3 separate regions of the Homo sapiens genome follow, and regions 1 and 2 are each linked to region 3. The links are contacts of gene promoters, found by promoter capture Hi-C in blood cells and fetal thymus (Javierre and others, 2016). All regions are on one chromosome and are shown on one strand. Each heading gives the region's core, a stretch centred on a gene start or on the middle of the fragment in contact. The rest is flanking DNA. Distances are from core to core; before and after follow the strand shown.

Region 1 (2,863 bases), core at 233-2,732, 6.0 Mb after region 3:
CCCAACTAAACCTCTCCTTATCTTTTTTTATTTTATTTTTTATTTTTTTGAGACAGGGTCTAGCTCTGTCACCCAGGCTGGAGTGCAGTGGCGTGATCTCAGCTCACTGCAACCTCTGCCTCCTGGGTTCAAGCGATTCTCCTGCCTCAGCCTCCTGAGTAGCTGGGATTACAGGTGCCTGCCACCATGCCTGGCTAATTTTTGTATTTTTAGTAGACACGGGGTTTCGTCATGTTGGTCAGGCTGGTCTCGAACTCCTGATCTCAGGTGATCCGCCCGCCTCGGCCTCCCAAACTGCTGTAATTACAGGCGTAAGCCACCGCGCCCGGCCAAATTTCTCATCTTTATGAAACACTCAAGAGAAACCTGTTAACAATAATGAAAATTATCAGCATGCTATGTGCCAGGCACTTTTATGAATATAAATCCCCTTAATCCTTCAATGAGCCTGCATGGCAGGTATTACAATCATCCCGTTACAGAAGGGATATTTGAGAGACGGCCTACAGGGTGGACTCAATAATGTGGCAGCTGGCCGGGTGTGGTGGCTCATGCCTGTAATCCCAGCACTTTGGGAGGCTGAGGCTGGTGGATCACCTTAGCTCAGGAGTTCGAGACCAGCCTAACCAACATGGTGAAACCCCGTCTCTACTAAAAATACAAAAAGTTGCCGGGCGTGGTGGCGCGCGTCTGTAGTCCCAGCTACTCAGGAGGCTGAGGCAGGAGAATAGCTTGAACCCAGGCAGCGGAGGTTGCAGTGAGCCGAGATCATGCCATTGCACTCCAACCTGGGCTGGTGCAAGACTCTGTCTCAAAAAAAAAAAAAAAAAAAAAAAAAGTGGCAGCTGTCGTGGTGCTCAGTGGGCGAGCAAGCACAGGAGGACACCTGGTCAAGTGTACCCCATCTTTCACGGTCCCTGAGTTGGGGTTCGTGCCTACTGGATTGACAGAAAAGAAACTTCCAGGAGTCGTGAAGACTCGTTAGTTGCTTCGGAGGGTTATCCTGGGCGTCCTTGACAGAGGTGGCGTCCTCCTTCCCTGCAGCCTCTAAAGAATGTAGTTAGGAGCCAAGGGAGGTGGTGACCCCCCACCCCATTGAGAACGTCAGGGGAGCTTCCGACTTGAAAAACTAGTTAGACGCTCAGCTTCGGTCAATTAAGCTTATACAAAGAGGGGCGGTGCGTCCTGAGGAGGTGGCACGGGGGAGGCGAGCGGAAGTCCGCCAGCCGCCGATTGGCTGGGACAAATGTCCGTCCCGCCTCCCTCCCGCCCCATCTCCCGGTGGCCTAGCGGCGCGGCCCGCGGGCGCGCTGAGGAGGCTGGCGGTGCCAGACTGGCAGGGGGCGTGACCCGAGGAGGCGGGGCGGGGGGGCGTGTCTTGCCTGGCCCCGGCGCCGGGCTCGTCACGGTTTGCGGCTCCGCCCCCGAACCCCTCCTCCTACGCGGCTCTCCTCCTTCCCGCTCGGTCCGCCGGTTCGCTCAGTTCTAGCTTCAGGTTCCACGCCGCGGCCTCGCTCTCCTACTAAAGCCAGCCCAGCAGTCGCAGCGCGCACACGCACGCCCCGCGTCTCCCGCGCCCGGCGCCCGGCTCTCCCCACGCGCGCACACCTCGCGCACGGACGCACCCACGTTTGTCCTCGCGCGCCGGGGGCTCGGCGGCGGCGGCAGGGGCAGCGGCAGAAGCAGGCAGACCGCGCGGGGCAGTACCGTAGCGGCCGTCACGGGCTGGCCGGCCGGCCATGGAGGCTGATGGGGCCGGCGAGCAGATGAGACCGCTACTCACCCGGGTAACGAGCAGGGTGAGGGCGCCGCGGCGGTGGGGCTCCTCCGCAGGGGGAGGGCGCGGGGCGAGGCAGACAAAGGCGGGGGGCGCGGCGGGCGTCGCGGCTCGGCCACCTCGTCCCAGGCCCGTCGCCCCTCCACCTCCCGGCGGCCGGCGCGCCTCGCCATCCCCTTTGTGTGGCGGCCTGGGGCGCGGGTGGGAGGGGGCCAGCGGCTGCGCTCGGGAGGCCCGAGTCGGGGCGGCCGGCGGCGCGCCGCGGGCATCCTCTGCGCGGCTCAGGCGGGACCCCGACATCCCCGCAGAGGCCGCCTGTGACCCCGACCATCCATCCCTTCCCTCAGCGCTCGCCTCCCCTGTTTCTTAGCGCGCTCCCCAGGCGGGGTCCCGGTTCCGGTTGCCTTGGCGCAGGAGTTTCAGATTAGCCCTCGAAAACCTATCTTTCTTCTCCTTCTAAGGAGGACGGCGGCTCCACCTGTCTCTAGCCCCAGGCAGTGGTGAAGAGCTGGTTGAATCTTTCCCCCTCTTTCCGAGTGTCCCCTCCCGCTCCGCGGTGCGCTTTGTTCGGTGAGTTCTCCGGCCGCGTGGACTGGCCGCGCTCCTTCCCGGCCAAGGCTCTTTCGCTGTTGCCTGCCGGGTCCGCCTTCTCCACTGGCTGGGACCCGGGGAGTATCCTCCTGCCGCAGGCCAAGTAGAAGGAGGAGGGTGTCCTGAGCTGTCTGGTGCTCCTTCTCTAACTCAGCTAGCAAGATCGCGTTTCCTACTGAGACTGGCTTTGATTTCAGGGTTAGAAGAGAATGGGGATGGACTTAAGGCCGGTGTTCCCATTTGTGATGATGGGTGAACGGCCCATGCTCAAGAAGCGGACTTCCTGCTTTCTTTAGAGCACATGCGTCCCCGCAGTTGTCTCTTTCTCCTTTCCAAGTTCGTGACTCAAAGGAGATGGAAGTATTCTAAATTTTCCTACTTCTAATTTTTACTATGCAACCAGCAAAGGCGGGAAGGTTGCAGGGAAAATTGTCCGGTCTTTCACAACTAAGAGGAAAATTACTTCTCCTATGTTTTTATTCAAGAGTTGTCTTT
Region 2 (2,828 bases), core at 308-2,807, 9.5 Mb after region 3:
CAAACCCGGGAGACAGAGGTTGCAGTGAGCCGTGATTGCCCCACTGCACTCCCACCTGAGTGAGAGTGAGACTCCATCTGGAAAAAAAAAAAAAAAAAAAAAAACTCAATAATCAATGTTGCTGTGTGAATTACATGCCAATATAGAAATAGTAAAGCAAATGGGAACAGCTTGTGGGGCGGTCAGGGTATAGCTAATAAAGTGACCCTTAATATTGGAGTAAAGCTTTCCCATCATAAAGGCATTAGGAAGTGTTTGGTGTATTTGAAGAACAAACAGCAAGGAGCCTGGGGTGTGGACTGCAGTAGGACATGAGGTCACACATAAAGTGGGAAGATCATGAAAGCTATCATGAGGACTTTTGATTTTTTTGCACGGGAGTGCCATGATCAATTTAATAGGATCCCTTGGACTACTGTGTGGAGATAAAACTGTTGGGTAGCAAGGACAGGAACAAGGTTTTCTTGTAGAGACAATGCTGACCTTTGGCCCGAACCCTTTCTCTCCTTCCCAAATTAGTCATGTTTAAGGATTTTTTTTGTTTTTAGGTCTCACTATGCTGCCCAGGCTGGCCTCAACAAATCCTCCAGCTTGTCTCCCAAAGTGCCAGGATTACAGGCCTGAGCCACCACACCCAGCTGAACAGTTTTAGATAAAAACCTAATTCATGCAATGATCAAAGAACTGAGAGAATAAGTACATTTTATGCTATCTCAAATTATATTATTTCTATAATCACATTTTGATGCCTTTTTGCTGGTTAGGGCATTTGGTTTGCTTTAAAGTACATTAGCACTGTAAGATGACAAAAAATAACAGAAGGTCCATTTGTTTTAGTTTAATAGACATTTATTCCTTCAGTTGAACAACCTCTACACAATTAAAATGTATGACTTAAGATCTTTTCTTTTTTTGTGAAGAAATTTAGGTCTCAAGAACTTTTATGAACTTGCTATGAGTACTTCCTGGAAATCAATTAACTGAGTCTTTTGAAACCCCTAGAGAAGATAGGAGAAAATTGGTTCAGAACGAGCATTTAAATTAAGTCAGCAAAGTCAGAATTTAAAATTGGGCAATTCCTTGTCTACATTTTCTTTACACTCAAATTGACCCTGGACAACAGTAGTCTAGTCTCCTGGAAGACATGGTGCAAACAGAAATGCAATGTGGTGGTATACTCATAGTCAAAGTGGGTGCACAAGTGATGGTCCAACTTTGTGGAATGGTAAGGATTTTTAGGGTTGTTTGGCCAGAACAAGAGAAATAACTGCAGAAAACACATATGGTTGGAAACCATGCGCTTGTGACTTTTTCTGTAGCCTATGGGAGTGGACAGAGTGGGTAACCCAAGATGTTTTTAAGACTGACTGGACTAAGAATGACGTACTTATAGCCAACTACTTTCCCCCTAATGTGACTGAAGGGATTCATAATGATCACAATTAGCATTACGGTTAAGTATTTTAGGGTTGACGTCTAAGCTCACACTTGAAAGGTATTTATCTAATGGCCACTGGCTCACCAGCTTCCCACCCTAGCATTCATTGCTAGCTTACCAATCTTAAGGCTAATAATTTTATCGCACATTCAACTTCAAAACACACCAGTGTTTACCATTACCACTAATCACTGAATGCCATGAAGCCATGGCACTGAACCAGGAGCTTTCACCTTTTATGTGAATTTAAAATGGTACTGTGGAGGCTGAGGCAATTTTCTTCAGGCTAACCCAGATTTTCTAAAGCCCAACTTAAAAAGTCTACACCTGCCAAACTAAAAAAAACGCAGCCACTTGAAAATAAACCAGCAGAGCATTGCCATCACTCCGATAAAGCTGCAGGTTTCATCACATGCACCAGACAAATCTACAGGGCTAGTTTCAGTTCTCTCCTTTTAAAGAATTTATTAAGCCTGTTATACCACACAGTATGTTTTATACACTGACATACAACTCCCTAATAAGATAAAGCAAAGACAAAAAAGTTTATCTTATTAGAAACAAGATACACCACCACTTATTGTCTTCAAACATTATTGCACTTTAACTTTCTTAATTTGACAAAGCATTCAAGAAACATCTGCAGACTAGTTTTAACAGACAAATAACACCTGTAAGCAGACATGACTGTCCTAAATTGTTTATTAAGTATGAATTTTACAAACTTTACTTATATTAGCGGTAACGGTGGAGCTGGAGAGTATTGCGCCTTCTCCAAGCTGCCCGGCGAGAGCCACCAATAGTGTGGTGGAACTTGTGGCCCTTTCCAAGGCCACGGCTCTTTCGGCCTGCAGATGTCAGCCCACGCATCTCCCTGTGCTTGTGGACTGGTTTGGTGATCCACTGGGTGTCAGGATTTCTTCTGATAGCTTTATGGAATGGATCAATGAGGATAACCTCAAAAAATTTGTATGTGGAATCTTCACCAACCCAGTAAGAATTCAGGACTCTCAGAGCCCCACAGTGGCGTCCAGCTCGCTCCTAGAATAGGAAAAAAGGCCCAAGGTCAATCTCCCACATTGCCTATAGCAGCAAGTCAGAAAGAATTTTAATTCTCAACTCTAGTTCACCACCAGACAAGAGTCTTTTACTACTCAAGTTATTTACTAAGCATTTCTCCCTAGACTATCACAAGTGTAATGAGATAATGTAGACTTGCTAAAACAACACACATAGACTGAAACACATCATTCCCTCTTAATACTCCATTCCTGACTAGGGCAGGAATATGTTAATATCTGGGTAACAAAATTTAGGGTTTGGGGACCTTATCTTTTTCCATACAACTGAGAGCTCAGCAACGTTTAGCTTTAAAAATATTTAGTATATA
Region 3 (2,959 bases), core at 13-2,512:
CCACCACATCCAGCTAATTTTTGTTATTTTTGGTAGAGACGGGGTTTCACCATGTTGGCCGGGATGGTCTCCTGACCTCAACTAATTCACCCGCCTCGGCCTCCCGAAGTGCTGGGATTACAGGCGTGAGCCTGTAAGTTAGTATCTAAATCACACAGGCGTTGAGACTATTTTTTTCTGGCTCAGTGCCACTGCTTTATTAGGCTGACATTTTAATCTATGTATTTTTGCACTTAAACTGGCAAGTTGGGGCGGGGCGCTCAGCATTTGGGTCTTATTCTTAGGCAGTAAGTTCGATGCAGGGCGAAGCCCGGGCCTTGACGTTCTCTTCAGCAAGGATTCCGCCCGTCAAGCGCCAGCAGCCGCTCCTAAGGAACTCTGATCCGCACACTGGCTCTGTAAGTCAGCCTCTGGCTCCTGCTTTCTATTTCATCTCTTCCGGTAAAAAGATTTCTGTCTTTTGGCCGCAGTGGCGCGTGCCCACGCTAGGTCGCTGAGGAAGACCCTTCGGGCCTTCTGAGCAGCGTAGCTGTTACTGTGGCACGTCCTAATGGTTCGGTCCAACTTCAGGAGACCGCCTGCCCTTAGGATGACCAACAGCTAGTTCAACTCAGGATAGCCAAGCTGCTCTCGGCAATGCAACCAATAGGGGAAGTCTTTCCAGAGCTCTTTCTCAGGAGCGTTGATTGGCTTATTCTCACGCCAATCAAGGTTTTCTGCACAACTGGCTTTTCTGTCACCAGATGGGGTGCAAACCGCTCACTCCCTCGGTAGAGAGGGCATAAAGCAGAGACGACCGGGAAATACCACAGAGGAGCAAATCACCTCCGGAAGTGGCGTTTTGGGTCGCTTTCTACCATGCAGTCCAATGAACTCTTTCTTTTGGCAACAAATTCCGTCTTCGAGCCCGCCCAAGGTGAAGAACATTTTGATTGGTTGTTTAGTCGGGGGACACAGAGACTCACGGGAGCTTCGTCCAAGCCCTTGCAGGTATTGCTCAGTTGGCCTGTCAATCATCTCGCTCGCTAGAAGGGGCGGAAACTGGCAGCCCTTTTGGCACCGCCTCTTCCTGGGCTGCTGTGCGGGGACGCAGCGAGGCCACCCCGGCTGGGAACAGCCGCGTGGGCGGGGCCGCATTGCACTCTCTGGACAGTTCCTGGGCCGCGAGGCGCGGGGAGTGGCCCTAAGCGCGGGGCTGTACGGGGAGGGCCGAGGCGTGGGGCGAACGCCGGGGCGGGGTCGGGGCGGGGCCGGGGGAGGCGGAAGCGGCGCGTGAACCTAAGTCGGAGTCGCGTTGAAGCCAGCGTCCGGCCGGCAGAGCGGCGTCGGCGGGGTTGGCCGGGGCGGTGTGGCGCTAGAGCCTGGGCGGGCCGGGGGCAAGGAGTCAAGGCTTGGGGGCGGGTGACGGGCGGGCGGAGGGCTTGCCCCCGTGTGGTCCTCGGAGCGGCCCGAGGTCCAGCCTCCCAGCGGTCCCGGAGGAGGATGCGACCGGGGGGCCCCGGGCGGGGCGGTCGGCGGCGGCTGCAGCGCTAGCGGCGCGGGGGCTGGGCGGCGGCGCCGGCATGAGGCGCAGGGCCGGTGTCCGCGGGAGGGTGGCGCTGCCGGCGGCCCGGCCGCTCCCGCTGCAATTGCTCGCTGGGCTCGTCGTGCCCTGCCAGTGGGGCCCCCGCAGCTCTCGTCCCGGCCGCCGCTGGTGACCACTCGCCGCCCCTCCGGAGGCTTCACCCGCGCCCTCCCCCAGGACGCGCCAGCGGAGCTCCGGCTCCTTCGCCCTGGACGCGGAGGCCGCGGTGTGCGGGGCGACGGCGAGGCCGGAAGATGGCCTGGGTGCTCAAGATGGACGAGGTGATCGAGTCCGGGCTGGTGCACGACTTCGACGCCAGCCTCTCGGGCATCGGGCAGGAACTGGGCGCCGGCGCTTACAGCATGAGGTACTGGGCTCCCTGGGCGGGGAGAAGCCTCTGTCTCCTTGGGGAAGGCCTGCGCAGCCCTGAGTCTCTGCCAGATGCGGCTGCTCCCAGAGGTGCGCGGGCCTCCTGGGCTGCGGGGTCGGAGTCCTGCCGCGTGGCGGTCGGGGGCCATGGAACCCCAAAGGCCTCTGCTCGCCCTGGTGACGGGCGGGTGGGGGAGGATGGCCCCGCAAGCGTCGGCCTCGGACCGCTCCTGAGTGCTTCATATTTGCTGTAAAACACGCCCAGCTATTAGGATGGCTTGGGTTGGTGGGGGAAGGGGCTTCTTTTCCTTATAAGTGATTTACAAGTCCCATTGGAGCTAGAATACACTGTACGAAAAGGCAGCACTTATATTGGGAGAATACTGTCTAGCGTTTTGGGATCAGTTCCTACTTTGTTGTCCTACATTATGATCTTTTCTGGCTGCAGATTTTAATCACTTGATGTTAGTAAATTATAATTGAAAGAGCAGCGGTGGGAGTAGCACTGTGACTTCGTTTTGTTCTTTTGATTGTCTCAAAGTGAAGTTTCTCATTTTGGAGACTACCCTCTCAGGCTGTTTCCTCTTGAGGGTTTTAAGATGCAGTGATTGCACCACAAATAATTGTTTAGTCTCTGCTGTCTGTACCAGCAGTCATTCATTTTAATATGGAGAGATTGAAACAGATCTGAGCTTAGTCTCCGCCCTTTATCCTTTTTAACTGTTAGGAATTTGGAAACTCTGTATTTTTTTAGTGGCTTTATTGAAATATAGTTTACCATAGCGTTGACTTGACTAATAAAGTCTAAAAATCAGTGGTTTGGCAGCTTTTCAATAATGTGAATTAAGTGTAGCTTTCTGTTCTTTAGAAAATGTCTGATGTTTTGGAAGTGCTCTACAGTTTCCCAGTAGCATTCATACATCTTACTGCAGCTCTAGAGGAGGACTTCTGGGTTAAAGCTGGCCTGGAATCTTGGTGGCTGCTCCTTGAAGTAATTGGGTCTTTAAATCTTAAGGAGAAATTCTG

The links. Contacts are between HindIII fragments. The CHiCAGO score rates a contact against its expected background, and 5 or more counts as called.
Region 1: a contact is called between the fragment with the promoter of SLC4A7 here and the fragment with the promoter of UBP1 in region 3, in 1 of 17 cell types (naive CD8 T cells). The highest score is 6.2, in naive CD8 T cells.
Region 2: a contact is called between a fragment that was not itself captured here and the fragment with the promoter of UBP1 in region 3, in 1 of 17 cell types (activated CD4 T cells). The highest score is 5.5, in activated CD4 T cells.

The regions. Positions count from the first base shown.
Region 1 is chr3:27,483,003-27,485,865 of GRCh38, reverse strand. SLC4A7 (solute carrier family 4 member 7) reads left to right here and starts at 1,482. Exons shown (of 26, transcript NM_001321103.2): 1 at 1,482-1,799. The coding sequence starts at 1,740. RefSeq lists enhancers at 824-953, 1,432-2,208, 2,224-2,283, 2,314-2,523, 2,684-2,743 and silencers at 1,084-1,563, 1,594-1,953, 1,984-2,053. The HindIII fragment of the contact is 9,889 bases long and covers 1,163-2,863 here.
Region 2 is chr3:23,918,847-23,921,674 of GRCh38, reverse strand. It overlaps RPL15 (ribosomal protein L15), which reads right to left. Exons shown (of 4, transcript NM_002948.5): 4 at 686-2,479. The coding sequence ends at 2,174. It also overlaps a transcript of NKIRAS1 not described here. Among named protein-coding and RNA genes, the nearest start is that of RPL15, 3.1 kb to the right of the region's middle. The HindIII fragment of the contact is 2,659 bases long and covers 228-2,828 here.
Region 3 is chr3:33,438,708-33,441,666 of GRCh38, reverse strand. It overlaps UBP1 (upstream binding protein 1), which reads left to right and starts at 1,262. Exons shown (of 16, transcript NM_014517.5): 1 at 1,262-1,931. The coding sequence starts at 1,819. RefSeq lists enhancers at 284-573, 784-973, 1,305-1,804 and silencers at 1,124-1,283, 1,344-1,453, 1,504-1,823, 2,054-2,103, 2,023-2,257. The HindIII fragment of the contact is 4,671 bases long and covers 1-2,959 here.